2 separate regions of the Homo sapiens genome follow, and region 1 is linked to region 2. The links are contacts of gene promoters, found by promoter capture Hi-C in human tissues and cell types (Jung and others, 2019). All regions are on one chromosome and are shown on one strand. Each heading gives the region's core, a stretch centred on a gene start or on the middle of the fragment in contact. The rest is flanking DNA. Distances are from core to core; before and after follow the strand shown. Region 1 has its middle 34 kb from the start of WNT8B. Region 2 holds the start of CWF19L1 (CWF19 like cell cycle control factor 1).

The links. Contacts are between HindIII fragments. The study calls those that stand out against the background at their distance.
Region 1: a contact is called between a fragment that was not itself captured here and the fragment with the promoter of CWF19L1 in region 2, in 3 of the 25 tissues and cell types used here (hippocampus, lymphoblastoid cells and thymus).

The regions. Positions count from the first base shown.
Region 1 is chr10:100,426,477-100,431,429 of GRCh38, reverse strand. No RefSeq gene overlaps it. Among named protein-coding and RNA genes, the nearest start is that of WNT8B, 34 kb to the left of the region's middle. The HindIII fragment of the contact is 6,021 bases long and covers 1-4,543 here.
Region 2 is chr10:100,264,495-100,269,437 of GRCh38, reverse strand. CWF19L1 (CWF19 like cell cycle control factor 1) reads left to right here and starts at 1,800. Exons shown (of 14, transcript NM_018294.6): 1 at 1,800-1,867. The coding sequence starts at 1,845. RefSeq lists an enhancer at 3,820-4,069. The HindIII fragment of the contact is 27,589 bases long and covers 1-4,943 here.

The sequences.
Region 1 (4,953 bases), core at 284-2,783, 160 kb before region 2:
ATGTGACAATCAAATATTGCATAACCAAACTCTTTTAAATCTTCTTTTATTGCTCTGTAGAGTTGAACCAGTTTATGTATCCACTAAAATCTCAAGGAATTGTTCTTTAGCTTTAGATTCTCAGGTACAATGAATAGAAGAGGACTTCCTGCTATTATTTATTAATTTTATTTTACTTTATTTTATTTTTTGAGACACAGTCTCATTCTGTCACCCAGGCTGGAGTGCAATGGTGCAGTCTCTGCTCACTGCAGCCCCCATGTCTTGGGCTCAAGTGATCCTTCCATCTCAGCCTCCCGAGTAGCTGGGACTACAGACACTCACAACTACGCCCTACTAATTTTGTTTATTTTTTGTAGAGATAATGTCTCACTATGTTGCCCAGGCTGATCTCAAACTCCTGGACTCAAGCTATTCCCCTACCTCAGCCTCCCAAAGTACTGGGATTACAGATGTGAGCCACCATGCCTGGCTATTTCTTATTTTTAATTTGCTTTTTAATTGCACATATATTCGATAGAATACATCTAGAGTGTTTTAAAACAAAAGTCACAATCTTAGCTCACTCAAGTCTGTTTCATATTTAAACAATTGTTTTTCTATCTCTGAAGTGATTGTTTTGGTAGAAGCATTTCATATTGTTTGAGGGAGCAATAATCCATTGATTATAGCAGTATACATATGAAATGGCTGGGATTTAGAAGCAATATTGTCATGGTTGTAAAGAAAAATAAGTCTAAAAACTGTAAAATCTTGGAACAGAGTATACTGGTTAATTGAGCTTCTGATTAAGTATGGGTTAATGAGAGACACTTTTTGTTTGAAATCTCTCTAAATTGCCTCAGTCCATTTTCGTGCTTTAATAAGTAGTCTCATGAACATAACTGAATATTCTCTTAACTGATTCAGCACCCTGTAATGCCTCAGGACCATTACTCTGAACATCATATATAACTCTATAAAGTACTACAGCCACAGAAGGTATAGGAGTTTAGGATGACTCATTAGACATGTCTTTACTTTAAAAAATAAATCCCTGTAATCTGTGCATTTCATTGTATGTAAATTTATGTTAATTTAGTAAATGCCTGTTACATATCATAGAATAATAAACTGCTCAATCATTTAATCCATAGAGACTTTTGAGATTATGAAATTCAATGTCATTATTTAACAGATGAGAAAACTAAGAATAAGAAAATAACAAGAAGGATTAATACAACTAGGGCTACCATCAATGTCTCCTGATTGCAAATCAGGTGGCCTTTTACACCATGCTGCAACTTTCAAATGATTTGGAGTTCCTGTCATTTCTCTCCCTTCCCCCATACAAGTGGAGTTCATTTTCAAAATTAATTATTTGAGATTTTTGGATAAATGAACATAAGCTCCACTAAAATATCAGCTCCGCTGAAGCAAGGATTTGTCTGTTTTGTTCACTGATGTAGTCTCAGCATCTAGAATAGTGCCTGCCCCTTAGAAAGCCCTCAATAAATGTACGTTGAATGAAAGAATGAAATAAAGATTGAATATCTATTACACACAAGATAACTTGATTTTGAGCTCATAGGTTGAATATAGCTCTATATTAATCTGTTTAACAGTCATTAGGATTCACAGTATACAGATTACAAGCTAAAATCATTATAGTCAAAACTTTGAGTATACAATGAGCAAATGAAGAAGAAATATTAAATAATTGTTGTGGTAAAACATTTTGAGCTTTTGTTTTTGGTTCTCTTCTGTTTTGTGTACCTCAGTTTCAAACACCAAGTGTTGGAAGTTAGAAGCCCAGATATTGTTAAACTTTAAGAATATTATTTGGATAGTCAAATGAGTCATCAAAATAGAAAATGTCAAAACTCAGCTTTGCAAAGCTGTTTTAAAATATAAATTCTAGGCTGGGCGTGGTGGTTTACGCCTGTAATCCCAGCACTTTTGGAGGCCGAGGCGGGCAGATCAAGAGGTTAGGAGTTTGAGACCAGACTGACCAACATGGTGAAACACCGTCTCTACTAAAAATACAAAAATTAGCCAGGTGTGGTGGCGCTCGCCTGTAATCCCAGCTACTCAGTAGGCTGAGGCAGGAGAATTGCTTGAACCCAGGAGGCAGAGGTTGCAGTGAGCCGAGATCACACCACTGCACTCCAGCCTGGCAACAGAGCGAGACTGTCTTAAAAAAAAAAAAAAAAAAAAAATCTGAATAATTGTCAAACACATCTCTTTAAATAAGGCAAACAAGGCTTTAAACTTTAAAACTAGGGAGAACAAAATATTCTTGGACACTACGCCCTATGCTTCTTATCACATATGTGCTTTGACTCAGAATTGACGAGTCTGCCAAAGCATCTGCTAAGTCCTTCCGTATGAAGAAATACCTCAAAAACAAACCCAAGGATGAATGAAATGCAAAAGCCCTTTACCTAAGAACCACTTTAGGGTCAGTCGTGGTGGCTCATGCCTGTAATCCCAGCACTTTGGGAGGCTGAGGCGGGCAGATCACTTGAGGTCAGGAGTTCGAGACCAGCCTGGCCAACATAGTGAAACCCCGTCTCTACTAAAAATACAAAAAAAAAAAAAAAATTAGCCGGGCATGGTGATGGGTGCCTAAAATCTCAGCTACCGGGGAGGCTGAGACAGGAGAATCGCTTGAACCCGGGAGGTAGAGGTTGCAGTGAGCCGAGATCGCGCCACTACACTCCAGTCTAGGCAATAGAGCCAGACTCTGTCTCAAATAAAAAAAAAAAAAAAGAAGAAGAAAAAAGAACCAGTTTAAAATTTAACAGTGTACGAATGTAAGGTTGTATGGCCACACAGGAGTATTTGGACTCAGAGTCATGGTTTCAATAACAGCAAATCAGAAGATGGTATTTATCTTACAATGCACAAAAATAAATAAATAAATAAAATTTTTAAAATTGCGTCTTGGGAGGCCAAGGCAGGAGAATCACTTGAGCCCAGGAGTTTGTGACCAGCCTGGGCAACATAGCAAGACCCTGTCTTTATTTAAAATTTTTTAAAAAGTGGTATTTATCTATGAAAATGGACCCATCTGTTATTCCCTTTATATTCCAGAAAATGTTTTAGGTCTCCAGAATTCCTTGAATTTCTTTTTTCTTTTTCTTTTTTTTTAAAGTGTATAGTTTTATTTATTGTTTATCTTTTTATTTATTTTTATTTTTTATTTTTTGAGATAGAGTCTCACTCTTGTTGCCCAGGCAGGAGTGCAGCGGCCCAGTCTTGGCTTGCTGCAACCTCCACCTCCTGGGCTCAAACGATCCTCCAACCTTAGCCTCCCAAGTAGCTGGGACTATAGGCATGTGCCACCACATCCAGCTAATTTTCTGTATTTTTCGTAGAGACAGGGTTTTGCAATTTGTTGAGGCTAGCCTTGAACTGCTGAGCTCAAGCAATCCTCCCACCTCAGCCTCCCAAAGTGCTGGGATTATGGGTGTGAGCCACCACAACTGGCATATTTATTTTTTAAATATAATTTCAATTTTTATTTTTCAACTTATATTTTAGATTCAGGGAGTACATGTGCGGATTTGTTACCTGAGTACATTTTGTGGTGCTGAGGTTTGGGGCACAAATGATCCCATCACCCAGGTACTGAACATCATACCTAACAGTTACTTTTTCAACCTTTGCTTCTCTCCCTCCCCACTTAGTAGTCCACAGTTTCTATGATTGCCATTTTTATGTCCATATGTACCCACTTATAAGTGAGAATATGGGTATTTGCTGTTCTGTTCCTGTGTTAATTATCTTAAGATAATGCCCCCCTGCCAACTGCATCCATGTTGCTGCAAAGGACATAATTTCGTTCTTTTCTATGGCTGTGTAGTAGTCCATGGCGTATATGTACCACATTTTATTTATCCAATCAACCATTGATAGGCACCTAGATTGATTCCATGTCTTTGCTATTGTGCTGTGTCTTTTTGGTGGAGTGATTTGTTTTCTTTTGGATATATACTCAGTAATGGATTGCTGGGTTGATTGGTAGTTCTGTTTTCAGTTCTTTGAGAAATCTCCAAATTGCTTTCCACAGTGGCTGAACTAATTTACATTCCCACCAACAGTGTATAAACATTCTCTTTTCCCTGAAACCTCGCCAGCATCTGTTATTTTTTGACTCTTTAATAATAGCCATTATAGTTGGCATGAGATGGTATCTCATTGTGGTGTCCATTCGCATTTCTCTGACAATTAGTGATTTGGAGCATTTTTTCATGTTTGTTAGTCAATTGTATGTCTGTTCATGTCTTTTCCCATTTTTTAATTGGGTTATTTGGGTTTCACTTATTTAATCGTTTAAGTAAGTTCCTTATATATTCTGGATATTATACCTTTGTTGGGTATGTAGTTTGTGAATATTTTCTCCCATTCTGTAGATCATCTGTTAGTCTGTTGATAGGTTCTTTTGCTATGCAGAAAAGAAGCTCTTTAGTTTAATTAGGTCCCACTTGACCTAATTAAATCCTAATTAATCAATCTTGAGTTAATTTTTGTTTATGGAGACAGATAGGAGTCCAATTTCATTCTTCTGCATATGGCTAGCCAGCTATCCCAGCACCATTTATTGAATAGGGAGTCATTTCCCTATTGCTTATTTTTGTCATCTTTGTTGAAGATCAGATCACTGTAGATGTGTGGCTTTATTTCTGGGTTCTCTAATCAGTTCTGTTGGTCTATGTGTCTGTTTCTGTACCACTACCATGCTGTTTTGGTTACTGTAGTGTTATAGTAAAGTTTGAAGTCAGGTAATATGATGTTCCAGCTTTGTTCTTTTTGCATGGGATTGCTTTGGCTATTTGAGGTCTTTCTTGGTTCCATGTGAATTTTAGAATAGTTTTTTCTAATTCTGTCAAAAAATAACATTGGTAGTTTGATAGGAATAGTGTCAAATAAATAGATTGCTTTGGACAGTATGGGCATTTTAACAATATT
Region 2 (4,943 bases), core at 551-3,050:
TAGTTTTGTTTGGTTATTGAGACAGGGCTTGCTGTGTCACCCAGGCTGGAGTGCAGTGGCAAGGTAATAGCTCGCTGAAGCCTCCATCTCCTGGGCTCAAGTGATCTCCCCACCTCAGCCTCTGGAGTACCTGGGAGTACAGGCATACGGCCACCATGCCCAGCTAACTTTTTTTTTTTTCTTTTTAAATTTGTAGTAGAGACGAGGTCTGGCTATGTTGCCCAGGTTGGCCTTGAACTCCTGTTCTCAAGTGAACCTCCCGCCTCAGCCTCCCAAAGTGCTGGGATTACAGGCATGAGCCACTGTGCCTGGCCTGTAGTTCTTCTTTAATCTTATGTTTTATTAATTTTGAATTATTTAGATGCCCTTGATGAGTCTTCCTTTCCCCGCAGTCGTCAGGAACTCTCTCTTGTTTCCATTTCCTTACACACTTGTTTCCTACCACTTGGCCTGAACCCTTCAAAAAAGTCAATATTACAAAAACTAAAACCAAATAGGTAGGAGGGCTTTTGTAGATTAAAATAGAGACAGAACCAAATGCAAGTGTGAAACTTGATTGCATCTGAATCAAAACAAGCCCCAAATATAAAATCAGTTTGTAGGGAAATATGGAGAACTTTAAATATGGATGTATATTAGGTAATATTATTGAATAATTAATGTTAATTTTCTTAGCTGTGTTAATAGTATTACGGTTATGTAGGAGGATATCCTAATCTTAGGAGATAAATGGAGATGTATTCCTGTTGTCCGCACTTTATTTTATTTTATTTTTTGACACGGAGTCTCGCTCTGTCGCCCAGGCTGGAGTGAAGTGGCGCGATCTCGGCTCACTGCAACTTCCTCCTCCTGGGTTCAAGCGATTCCCCTGCCTCAGCCTCCCGAGTAACTGGGACTGCAGGTGCGTGCCACCACGCCCGGCTAATTTTTTGTATTTTTAGTAGAGAGGGGGTTTCACCGTGTTAGCCAGGATGGTCTGGATCTCCCAAAGTGCTGGGATTACAGGCGTGAGCCACTGCGCCCGGCCTGTACTTTACTTTCAAATGATTGAGTGAGAATGGAAGGGCTTGGGCACTTTGAGAGAAAGAGAACACAAGCAAATTTGCCAACATGCTGAGACTTACTGAATCAAGGTAATAGCCATTATTCTTTTAACTTTTTTTTTTTTAATTTGAGACGGAGTTTCGCTCTTGTTGTCCAGGCTGGAGTGCAATGGCGCGATCTTGACTCACTGCAACCCCCGCCTCCCTGGTTGAAGCAATTCTCCACCATGCCCGGCTAATTTTTGTATTTTTAGAAGAGACGGGGTTTCACCATGTTGCCCAGGCTGGTCTTGAACGCCCGACCTCAAGTGATCCGCCCGCCTCAGCCTTCCAAAGTGCTGGGATTATAGGCGTGAGCGTCCACGCCCGGCCTCTTAACTTTTTGATAGGTTAAAAACTTACAAAAAACGTGGATAGAGGGGGTCTGTCTTGCCCACTAGACCGATATGGTTAGGTTAGGTTAGGTTAGGTTAGGTTAGGTTAGAACCCGACATTGTGCTCTGTACTTCCTAGCCATTCATTCGCTTCAAGTGCTCTGAAATTTAATTTAAAAAATCATAGTTGGAATCCTTTCGGTCACTTTCTCTTTCTCCCTTCGTTCCTCCCTTTCCCTCTTGATTCTTCCTTGAGGCGCAAACACCTGAGAGAGGCTTCTGTCCCTCGGCGGTCTCCGTAAGTAAGTGAACCGTTATTGGCTGGAGGGCGCTGACGTCTGATTGTTGCGCGGTCGCATTTTTCCGGGGAGCGCGGATTCGCATTCCCAATTTTAGGTGGCAGTCGCAACCCATACTATTCGGACAGATGGCACAGAAACCGCTGCGCCTGTGAGTGACCGTGAATGGAAGCCTCTCTCCCTGTGTCTCTTTCGTGTGTGTAGGTGACGACACGGGCGGGAGTCTTTCCCATGACGGGAAGGGAGAAGGAAAAGGCGGAGAGACACGGGGCTGCTGGGGAGCTTAGGTGATGTCTTTGCCTGGCCGGGGCTGACCTCTTTTCCTGGCCCTTTTCGCTTCTGAGGGGGTTTCTCTTGGCGACGCTCGTTCGGAGAGGCGGAAGCTCCCAGAGTTAGGCCTCCTCCATCTTAGGGGGCAGTCCTGGCCTCTGACACATCCTTTCCCCTTCGTTTCTCCTGACCCCATTTATTTACTCGCCAAATAGCCATTGGGCCCACTGATGGGCCCTGGGCAGTGGTGGACAGAGTAGATAGGGACCCTTCCCTGGGGCATTTTTTTTTTTTTTTTTTTTTTGCGAGGAGGAGGGGTGGGGGTGGTGGTGAAGAGAGGGCTTCATGCAGCAAGTATTTATTGAAGAACTGCAGTGTGCCGGACGCTGTGCTAGGTGTTGCAACAGATGGAGTTCCTGCTTTAATGGAGCGTAGAGTCTAGAGGAACAGGTACTAAAGAATCCAGATAATGGGCCGGGCGCGGTGGCTGAGGCAGGAGAATCGCTTGAACCCGGGAGGCGGAGGTTGCTGTGAGCCGAGATCGCGCCACTGCACTCCAGCCTGGGCGACAGAACGAGACTCTCAAAACAAAACAAAACAAAACAAAACAAACAAAAAACAATACAAATAATGGCCGGGCGCGGTGGCTCACGCCTGTAATCCTAGCACTTTGGGAGGCTGAGGCGGGCGGATCACTTGCGGTCAGGAGTTCGAGACCAGCCTGGCCAACGTGGTGACACCCCGTCTCTACTAATACAAAAAAAAAAAATTAGCCAGGCGTGGTGGCGCGTGCCTGTAATCCCAGCTACTTGGGAGGCTGAGGCAGGAGAATCGCTTGAACCCGGAGGCGGAGGTTGCACAGTGAGCCGACACTGCACCTCTGCACTCCAGCCTAGGTAACAGAGTGAGACTCCGTCTAAAAAAAAAGGAATTCAGATAAATGTAAAGTTACCATAGTGATAGGGCCAGGCGCAGTGGCTCACGCCTATAATCCCAGCGACTCCGGAGGCCAAGGCAAGAGAATCACTTGAGTCCAGGAATTCAAGACCAGCCTGGGCAATATAGCAAGGCCCCGTTTCTACAAAAAATACAGAAAAAAAAAAAAATTAGCCGGGCGTGGTGGTCCCAGCTAATTGGGAGGCTGAAGCAGGTGGACCACCTGAGCCTGGGGAGGTCGATGCTGCAGTGAGCTGTGATCGTGCTGCTGATCTCCAGGCTGGGTGACAGATTGAAACCCTGTCTCAAAAAAAAAAAAAAAAAAATTGCAATAGTGGTAACTTTTGGGAAGAAAATATTCGTGAATCTGGGAGAGTGCATAAGAGGGGTATTTGGCTTAATGATAGGAGTCAAGAAGGCTTCCCGAGAATGTTAGGATTGAGCCTTGGGAAATAAGAGTAATCCATTGCTTAACAGCAGGGTTATGTTCTGAGAAATGAGTTGGTAGGCGATTTCGTCATTGTGCGAACATCTTTGAGTGTACTTCCAGAGACCTAGATGGTATGGCTTCCTGTACACCTAGGCTAAATGGTATAGCTGTACGTCAAGTTACTGTACTGAATACTGTAGGCAATTGTAACACAATGGTAAGCATTTTTGTATTTAAATATAGAAAGGGTACAGTGAAAACACCTGGCCGGGTGTGGTGGCTTATGCCTGTAATCCCAACACTTTGGGAGGCCGAGGTGGGTGGATCACCTGAGGTCAGAAGTTCAAGACCAGCCTGGCCAACATGGTGAAACCCTGTGTCTACTAAACATACAAAAATTAGCCGGGTGTGGTAGCGGGCGCCTGTAATCCCAGCTACTCAAGAGGTTGAGGCAGGAGAATGGCTTGAGCCTGGGAGGCAGAGGTTGCAGTGAGCCGAGATCGCACCACTGCACTCCAGCCTGGGCGACAGAGCGAGACTGTCTCAAAAAAAAAAAAAAAGAAAAAGAAAAAAAGAAAATACTGTATACAGGAAAAAAAAAAAGGGCACAACCTGTGTAGGACACTTATCATGAATGGAGTTTGCAGAACTGAAAGTTTCTCTGAGTGAGTTAGTAAGAGGTGAGTGAATGTATTACTTTACAGTATTGTAGACTTTATGAATACTGTACACTTCACCTATATTAAATTTATTAAAATATTATTTTCAACAGTAAACCTTAGTTTACTGTAACTTTTACTTTATAAACTTTAAGTTTTTTTACACTTTTTGACTCTTGTTATAACACAGCTAAGACATAAAACACATTGTACAGCTGTACAAAAATATTTTCTTTATATCCTTATTCTACAAGCTTTTTTCTATTACTTTTTTTTTCTTTTTACCTTTTAAACTTTTTTTTTTTTTGGAGACAGGGTCTCACTGTCGCCCAGGCTGGAGTGCAATTGTGCAATCACGGCTCACTGCAACCTCAACCTCCTGGGCTCAAGTGATTCTCCCACTTCAGCCTCCTGAGTAGCTGGGACTACAGGCGGAAGCTACCACACCTGGCTAATTTCTGTATTTTTTGTAGAGAGGGGGTTTTGCTATGTTACCCAGGCTGGTCTTGAACTCCTGGGCTCAAGTTACCCTCCTGCCTCAGCCTCCCAAAGTGCTGGGATTACAGACGTGAGCCACTGTGCCTGGCTTTAAACTTGTTTTGTTGCAAACTAAGACACACACACGAGTCTAGGCCTACACAGGGTCAGGATCATCAGTATCACTGCTGTTCACCTCCATATCTTGTCCCACTGGAAGGGCTTCAGTAGTAATAACATGCATGAAGCTGTCATCTCCTATGATAACAGTGCCCTCTGGAATACTTCCTGAAGGACCTGCCTGAGGCTTTTTTACAGTCAACTTTTTTTTTTTTTTTTTGAATACGTAGGAGTGTACTCTAAACAGTAAAGAGCATACCATACTGAATATATTTTTTTTTTTTTGAGATGGAGTCTTGCTCTGTTGCCCAGGCTGGAGTGCAGTGCCGCGATCT